Regions from separate parts of the Homo sapiens genome. Here region 2 is linked to region 1. The links are contacts of gene promoters, found by promoter capture Hi-C in human tissues and cell types (Jung and others, 2019). All regions are on one chromosome and are shown on one strand. Each heading gives the region's core, a stretch centred on a gene start or on the middle of the fragment in contact. The rest is flanking DNA. Distances are from core to core; before and after follow the strand shown. Region 1 holds the start of OSBP2 (oxysterol binding protein 2). Region 2 holds the start of PIK3IP1 (phosphoinositide-3-kinase interacting protein 1).

What was found. The method cuts DNA at HindIII sites, captures the fragments that hold promoters and counts their contacts. A contact is called where the count stands out against the background at its distance.
Region 2: the fragment with the promoter of PIK3IP1 here is called in contact with the fragment with the promoter of OSBP2 in region 1 in 1 of the 25 tissues and cell types used here (dorsolateral prefrontal cortex).

What each region holds. Positions count from the first base shown.
Region 1 is chr22:30,692,224-30,696,653 of GRCh38, reverse strand. It overlaps OSBP2 (oxysterol binding protein 2), which reads right to left and starts at 1,780. Exons shown (of 14, transcript NM_030758.4): 1 at 1,101-1,780. The coding sequence starts at 1,744. RefSeq lists silencers at 1,594-1,643, 2,028-2,107. The HindIII fragment of the contact is 4,458 bases long and covers 1-4,055 here.
Region 2 is chr22:31,290,386-31,294,715 of GRCh38, reverse strand. PIK3IP1 (phosphoinositide-3-kinase interacting protein 1) reads left to right here and starts at 2,228. Exons shown (of 6, transcript NM_052880.5): 1 at 2,228-2,441; 2 at 3,420-3,536; 3 at 3,632-3,751. The coding sequence starts at 2,372. It overlaps LOC105372997 (a long non-coding RNA gene), which reads left to right. Exons shown (of 4, transcript XR_001755493.3): 3 at 895-986; 4 at 1,564-1,772. RefSeq lists enhancers at 2,846-2,895, 4,036-4,235 and silencers at 3,456-3,575, 3,756-3,985. The HindIII fragment of the contact is 5,590 bases long and covers 1-4,330 here.

The DNA.
Region 1 (4,430 bases), core at 531-3,030:
AAACAAAACCCTGTAGTGGGTGACTTGAAGGGATACTGTTGGCTGAATGAAGTGAGTGAAGTGACCTGAATTTCAGCAACAGCAAGTCAAGGTCCTTTTGTGTGCAGCAATGAAACAGTGCTTCTCAGAGTGTGGTCCTGGACCAGCATCACCAGCCACGCCTGGGAAGTTATTAGAAAATCCGAATCTCAGGCCCTTCCCCTAGGCCCACTGTAACAGAAATTCATTGGGGAGGCCCAGCACTTTGTGTTCCAACAAGCTCTTCAGGGAATGCTGATGCACACTCAGGTTTGAGAACCACTGGCATAGACTGATCTGAGTTCTCAAGGCTTAAACCAACCATCCCCAGGAAGCAGACCCAGGGAAGAGCCAGTAAGAAAGCAAAGGGAGGCTTCAGTAACCTCCTTTCAACCAGTTTCAGTGGGAAGACAGTGTTAGCTCTCTCACCACTGGACTTTAATTTTGAATCCCGTGCTGGGTCTGGAATAAGAAAGGAGGGCAGCAAAACACTTCCTAGCTCTCCGCAAAATGCCAAGATGGACTCCTGAAGGCCAAGAACCGTGTCCAATACATCTGTGAGTCTGTGGTGCCCAGCCCAAGGCCTGGCAACCAGAGGCATCAGGAAAGGTGGGAGTAACTGCCCCAGGCGGGAAGAATAAGCAGCCCTTCCTAAGAGTGTGGGTCCTAAGGACTGAACAAGGTGACTCTCTCCCTCAATCCCAAACACACAATGATGTTAGCTCCCGAACCAGAAAGGGCAAGGACTTTGAGGGGCTGACTCTAGCTAGCTGCCCCAAGCCCCACAACTGCCAAGCAGAAGGGAACTGAGGCCCCAGATCACTCCCTTACTCCACCTCCCCACTTGCCCAAAAACCCAAGCTTGCCAGAGGTCATGTCCGCAGATCACATTCACCCTTGCCAGAGGTCAGGGCCCCCGGCCCTTGGCGGCGGGCCAGAAGCGTGACTTGGCCTGCTGGAATGCATGCCCCTAAACATCTCTAGACTAGTGGCAGTGTCCGCCAACCATGGAGGCCCTCCATCACCATCCCTGCAGCATCACCACCCTCCAACCCCCATGTCCCACCCTGGCGCTTCCATACCTGTAGTAAGAGAGCAAACCATTGCCCAGCACGAACCAGCGGCGCTGGTAGCCCTTCAGATAGTTGGTCCACTTGAGAAGCCAGCCCTCGAAGCTGTCCAGAGGCAGTAAGGCCAGTGGGGCACTGGAGGTCGTGCCAGTCCCCGACATTGGAACCCCAAGAGGAGTCTTCGCCTGTCCTGGTCGCAGAAGAGGCAGGGGCTTTAACGCTGGCAGCGATCCTGACTCGGGTCTGAGAAAGGTCGCGCTCCCCACCGCCCGGGAGAGCGGCTCCGATGCGGCCTTAGTGAAGGGCCCAGCCCCTACACCTGAGCTTGACTCTGACCCCGGCCGCGACCCCTGCAGCAGTTCCGATGGCTGCCCAGCCCCTGGCTCCGGCTCAGACGTCGTCTCGGACACAGGTTCCGATCTTGGCACTGCCTCCGAAACTGCCTCCGACACCTGTTCTGACAGCGGTCCCCGCTCCGGTTCGGGCACGGGCTGGGGCTGGGGCTTGGGCTCCGGCCCGGAGCCGGACGTGGAAGCGCTCATGCCCGGCGCCGCCGTGTGGCACGACAGGCAGGGGACAACCGTGAACAGCGACGAGAGCCCGCGGGAGCGGCCGCCACAGCCGCCGCCTCGGCTCGGAGCCGCCGCTTTCCCCATAGAGCCGGCCGACCCGCGCGCGGCCGAGCGGCCAGTGGGGGCGGGGGGCAGGCCGGGGGCGGGGCCGGGGGCGCAGTCACGTGCGCGCGGCGCGAGGCGGGGGCGCGCGCGGGTTCCTCCGCGGTCCCGTGCGCTCCGTGCCCGTCAGCGCCCGCCGGCTGTTGTGCTCTCGGCCAGCCTCGGGCCATGTTTGGACCCTGGGTCCTTCCTAGGTCCGGCCGGTGGAAGGAGCTCTGACAACACCTGTGGGCGGAAGAGCTTGGTGGTCGGTCAACTCCGAAGGGGATGGCGCGCTTCAGGCCACGGTCTCTGCTTCGGCCCAGCCGTGCCAGGCGCTGGAGGAACAATGATGAATGCGGAGCCCGCCAGCTCCCAGCGCAGCTCTGCCCACGGGACCCTGCGCCGACGCCCCCTCCCCCAACCCAGGCTGGGGTGGGTTCGCTCTCCGCCACCCAGGAAAGCCGGGTGGGAAGCAGGTACGGCACCCAGAGGCCACGAAATGCGCACGAAGCACAGGGGCGCTAAAGGCTAAAGACGACGCCCCGCCCCCCATGGCAGCCATTACCTGTCTGTGGGTCGCTCCTGCGGCCGCCAGAAGCGGTGGCCCCAAGTGGCCGCCTCACCGCCTCCACCTCCTGAGCCAGCTGGCCTACGGTTCATGCCAAGGCGCTTCGCTGCCAGTGACGACATCGTTCGGGTTCTCTAAACAAATAGGGGAAGACTTTTTGTAAACCAAGCGTTTTAGTACAAGAAACATCTCAAAGTGGGATTCTGAACTTGGACCTCCCGGGATCCCTGGGTAGGCTGGCAGTCTGTGAGGCTTCCGCAGAGGTTTACCTGTCTGTGCATTTTTCCAGAGTAGGTCCATAACAAAGGAGGCTGTGACCCCAGAATGGTTAAAACATCAGCGAATTTTTTTTTCCGCTTTTTTTTTTTTTCCTTTTTGAGACTGAGTCTCACTCGGTAGCCCAGGCTGGAATGCAGTGGCGTGATCTTGGTTCACTGCAGCCTCCGCTTCCCAGGTTCAAGCGATTCTCCTGCCTTGGCCTCCCTAGTAGCTGGAATTCCACGGCCCGCACCATGCCCAGCTAAATTTTGTATTTTTAGTAGAAACGGGGTTTCACCATGTTGGTCAGGCTGGTCTTGAACTCCTGACCTCAGGCCAGGATCCTCCCGCCTCGGCCTCCCAAAGTGCTAGGATTACAGGCGTGAGCCACTGTGCCCAGCCATCAGTGATTTTTTTTTTTTCTTAAGAATCTATCCAAATGACGAAAGTTGATGGTTACTACAAATAATCAGAAATACAAATGGAAAGACTGAACATTGGGTTTCTGTCCAGACTTTTCAAGCTTAGACCTCTCTGCAGACTCCTCTTAGCTCACCATCACGTCTTACTCTCCCCTTACCCACCTATCCATTCCTGATCTTTGCTTGTGACAAGATAACCTGTGTAGGGACTGCTTCCTACGTGAAGTGGTCCCCAGAAGGAAGCAGATTGGAAGGTCCTAGAAATAGGAGGTGCAGACATGCACTGAGCAGGAGCCGCTGGCATCTTTGCTGGTGACTTTGAGACCCCTTCCTCAGGCACTTGTCTTTGAATGGTGGTCTTACCTGCAATTTTGCTGTGAGCTCTGGAGTGCAGAGAGCCCCCCATCTTGGTCTATCTCATATGTATGACGGTGACCCTCAAACTTCAGCATGGTGAGTCCCCCCAAGGAAAAGTGATTGCCTCTGGGGTGTAGTGGGGGACAGAACTGGACAACTGAGAAATGAGGTGGAATGCTTGCTTTTCACTCACACTTTGAACCTTTTGTATGTTTTACTGTGTATGTTTCACTGTGTGTATGTTTCACCGATTCAAAATAATGATGATAATTGTTAAAATCACCCCAGGGAGGTTTATTAGAAACACACTTTTCCAGAGCTGGGCACGGTGGCTCATGCCTGTAATCCCAGCACCTTGGGAGGCCGAGGCAGGCAGATCACGAGGTCAGGAGACCAGTCTGGCCAACATAATGAAACCCTGTCTCTACTAAAAATTAAAAAAATTAGCCGGGTGTGGTGGTGTGTGCCTGTAATCCCAGCTACTCGGGAGGCCAAGGCAAGAGAATTGCGTGAACCCAGGAGGCAGAGGTTGCAGTGAGCCGAGATCGCAACATTGCACTCCAGCACGGGCGACAGTGAGAGACTCCATCTTAGTAAAAAAAAGAAAAAGAAATTCACTTCTCCATCCCCAGTAAGTCAGAGGTGGAATCCAAGAACATGCTTTTTTTTTTTTTTTCTTTTTCTTTTCTTGAGACAGTGTCTTACTCTGTCACCTAGTCTGGAGTGCAGTGATGCAATCATGGCTCACTGCAGCCTTGGCCTTCAGGGGTCAAGTGGTCCTCCCACCTCGGCCTCCAGATTAGATGGGACTACAGGCATGTGCCACCACACCCAGCTAATTAAAAAAATTTTTTTTTGTAGAGATGGAGTCTCCCTATGTTGCCCAGACTGGTCTTGAAATCCTGGCTCAGGGAATCCTCCTGTCTTGGCCTCCCAAGGTGTTGGGATTACAGGTGTGAGCCACCTCGTCCAGCCAGGAACATGCATTTTATTATTTATTCATTTACTTTGAGATGGAGTCTTGCTCTGTTGCCCAGGCTGGCATGCAGTGGCACAATCTCGGCTCACTGCAACCTCTGCC
Region 2 (4,330 bases), core at 979-3,478, 600 kb before region 1:
ACCACACCTACCTATTTTTTTTTTTTTGTAGAGATGAGGGTCTTATTATGTTGCCCAGGCTGGTCTCAAACTCCTGGGCTCATCCTCCCACCTTGGCCTCCCAAGTGCTGGGATTTACAAGTGTGAGCCACTATACCTGGCCAAATTTTAAAATGCTACCGTATCTGTGTATGAATATGTGTGAATAAATTTACAGACTCTAGGGTGTAATTCACAGGGTAGACCAAGTCAAGAGTCAGAGGATCAGAAGCTTGGGTGGGGAGATAGGAGAGTGATTGCAAAAACAAAGCAATCTATCTTATTAAATGGACGAAAGGGATCAAACATTATCAGTAAACTATTTTAAAGAGTGAATTAAATGTATCTCTCTATCCTTTCTATGAGTGTAGTGAATTCAGATTCACCTCAGATTAGTTGAATTGACACTAGTTTTCTTCCCTGATAAAGCTTTTAAAATTTATTTAGTAAAGTGGCCAGGCATGGTGGCTCACACCTGTAATCCCAGAACTTTGGGAGGCCAAGGTGGGTGGATCACCTGAGGTCAGGAGTTTGAGACCAGCCTGGCCAACATGGTGAAACCCCATCTCTACTAAAAAAATACAAAAAAAAATTTAGCCAGGCGTGGTGGCGCACACCTTTAATCCCAGCTACTTGGGAGGCTGAGGCAGGAGAATTGCTTGAACCTGGGAGGTGGAGGTTGCAGTAAGCCGAGATGGTGCCACTGCACTCCAGCCTGGGAGACAGAGACTCTGTCCCCCCCACCCAAAAAAAAATTAGTTGTTTTCCTCCTTAAATTACAGCCTGCAAGATTGAAACAGAGTTTCCCCATTTCTATTTTGGGATCTGACTGAGTCACAAGGTAGTCTTGACGAATCACTCTGCTCTATCTCTCAGTTTACTGAGGCTGCCTGGGAACTTGAGCTGTCAGCCAAACAGGAAGAAGGGCCCTTCTGCCTACTCCAAAAGGCCTCAGTCAAATGGATATGGTGAGATTTAATGATGGATATAAATTACAGCAAATGGATTTCCTATAGGGTGAGGGAAAAAAAAAAAAGCAAACATTTTACTTAAATTCCTCTATACAATTTAGGGCTGGCAGAAAGGGTAGACTATTACAATGTAGCTGAGCAAATTTTTCCATGTTTGCATAACATGTGTTTTCAACTAAAGATACTCCTTCTATAGTCCTACTATATACAACACCCCAAAAAACCTCAAATGTAAGAAAAAGCAATGTGACAGATTTGACCCTGGCCAAGTTACACTGTTTTTTTTTTTTTTTTTTTTTTTTTTTTTTTTTAAGTGTCAGTGTTCATAAAGGCCCTTTTTCTTTTTCAAGGATGGGTATAAAGTGTTACTCGGCCGAACGCGGTGGCTCACACCTGTAATTCCAACACTTTGGGAGGCCGAGGCAGGTGGATTACGAGGTCAGGAGTTCAAGACCAGTCTGGCCAACACAGTGAAACCCCCGTCTCTATTAAAAATACAAAAAATTAGCTGGGTTGTGGTGGTGTGCCCCTGTCACAAGGTAGTCTTGACGAATCACTCTGCTCTCTCTCTCAGTTTACTGAGGCTGCCTGGGAGCTGTCAGCCAAACAGGAAGAAGGGCCCTTCTGCCTAACTCCAAAAGGCCTAAGTCAAATGGATATGGTGAGATTTAATGATGGATATAAATTACAGCAAATGGATTTCCTATAGAGTGAGGGAAAAAAAAAATCCAGCTACTCCGGAGACTGAGGCAGAATTGCGAGAACCCGGCAGGTGGTTGCAGTGAGCCGAGATTGTGCCATTGCACTCCAGCCCGGGCGACAGTGTGAAACTCTGTCTCAAAAAGAAAAGAAAAGAAAAAAAAAAAAACTATTACTCCACTCCCCACCAGAAACTCTTATTTTTTCCCCCCTATGTGGTCATGAATTCCTCCTGGGTGCATAGCTCCCTAAGTTGTTCTGTGTTTTAGTGCTTATAATTTCCCACATCCCATGATGCCCCTTGATAGAATTATTTTTTCTGTACTCACACAAATGGAAACAGAAGAGATGAAAAACCCTGGGGATGCGGCCTCGCAGGTCTCAAACTGATCGGCTGCTAAGCACAACCTGCATATCTCTTGGCTGAGTTCCTTTCTTGGCTCAGTTAGATTTTGCATGACCTAGGAGGCTTAGGACCCAGGGGGCGCCTTTCAGCTGAAAAACAGCTCGCGCTGCAGCAAGCTAGCTGGGAAGCTCCCAGTTCTAAAGAGAGGCTGTTTACCAGAACAGCATAACAAGGGCAGGTCTGACTGCAAGGCTGGGACTGGGAGGCAGAGCCGCCGCCAAGGGGGCCTCGGTTAAACACTGGTCGTTCAATCACCTGCAAGACGAAGGAGGCAAGGATGCTGTTGGCCTGGGTACAAGCATTCCTCGTCAGCAACATGCTCCTAGCAGAAGCCTATGGATCTGGAGGTGAGATTACAATCTTTCCTTTCCGCAGCAACTTCATGAAACAGAAGGGGTAAAGCCCCCTATTTCCCAAACAGGGCCAGGATGACAGGAAACGAAGCGTTTAGCCGGTTTCTGTTGTCCCGTGAAAGCTTTTCCACCCCTCCTTTCCTTGTCAGGGGCTTGCAGCTCCATCTTTGCCATTAAGAACAAAGGCAAGAAGCCACTTTCTCTCTGCCTTTCCTTGCTCATGAGTGGATGGAGCTTGGGGGTTCATCTCCCCTACTCCCCAAGTCCTGTTCTTTCTAAGCCCTTTGCATGGTGTGGTCCTCCTTCCCCAGCCTCCTTCTGTGGTTCTCCTGCAGAGGGGAGTGGGAGCTTGGAGTCTCATCCAGTCAGCGATGAGGCCGGTTTCCTCCGTTTGAGGCTGTCTTGAATCTTTTGCCTGACGGAGTCAAGGCTCCTGGAGAATTCTCCTGGGAGGGAGTATTTGCCTTTTAAACGGGCAGAAGGTGGCCGTATCCGTGAAGGAGGAAACACCGGAGTTTATGTAACGTGGCCATTACAACACAGGGACAAATGTCACGTCTGGGCGCCCCCCGTCCCAAAACTCCCAGCTCCTCAAAGGGACCCTAAGCCAGGCCTCCTCCTCTCCATCTCCTCCTCCAAAGTGGTCACAAGTTCAAGAGTAACAACGCTTTGCACTTCTGCAGCGCTTTCCAGGTTTCAAAAATAAATAAAACCTAACAGTCTCTGAGCGTTGACTGGGGGACAGGCACAGGCTGGGGGCTTCACACCCTGAGGTGTGCGTGGAGTTGGGGGGGGGGGGTGCGTGGGGCGTGGGGGTGTTGCCACGAGAGGAGAGGGAGGCCCAGCAGGGCCCGGGGTCCCCTAACCAGGCTGAGGTTCAGCCCGGGTGGTCCCGGCTCCCCTGTCCGCCACGCTGGGCGTCTTCCGTTCGCTGCCCGCTATTCTGTGTCCGGGGGCTTCTTTTCCTCACAGGCTGTTTCTGGGACAACGGCCACCTGTACCGGGAGGACCAGACCTCCCCCGCGCCGGGCCTCCGCTGCCTCAACTGGCTGGACGCGCAGAGCGGGCTGGCCTCGGCCCCCGTGTCGGGTAAGTGTCCTCCGGGGGACGGCCCCGGGGCTGGCGGGCGGCGGCCGCGTTCCCGGTGCCAGCCCCGGCACACATTTCCTTCTCTCCTCTCTTAGGGGCCGGCAATCACAGTTACTGCCGAAACCCGGACGAGGACCCGCGCGGGCCCTGGTGCTACGTCAGTGGCGAGGCCGGCGTCCCTGAGAAACGGCCTTGCGAGGACCTGCGCTGTCCAGGTACCTGCCCGGGACCCCGGGAATCCCCGCTCCTGGCGCTGACAGGAAGCGGCTGAGACACTCGTGGCGCACGTGCGGCCGCGCGATGCCGGCCGGCCCCGCTCCGCCTCCGCGCCGTCCGATTGGCCAGGGCTGTCTCCAGGCCGCGGGGCTCAAAGCCTATTGGCCGCCGCCGCCACTCGTATGAGCTCATCCGCCGCGAGCGCTTGTAAACAACTGCGCGGGGCGAGGCTGGGGTGAGGCTAGGTCTCTCCGCCGCGCGTCCTGAGGAGTGGCTTTTGGCCCCTCAGCGTTTATTGACCGTTTGCGGAGCGTCTGCAGTGTGCTAGACCCACACTGCTCACAACCCCAGCTCCCCAACCTCCCCTGACACACACCGCGGGAAGAAGTCGTTTGAGGCATCTGAGCTTCAGAGAAGTTAAGCGATTTACCAAAGGCAATGGCAGGGGACAGATTTGAATTCACGTTTCTTAGATTCCAGAGCGCAGGCTTTTTGCTCCCAAAGCAGCAAGAGAGTTTTCTAGGTTTAAATGGGATAATCAAAATAAAGCATTTATTTTTTATTTTTTATTTTTTGAG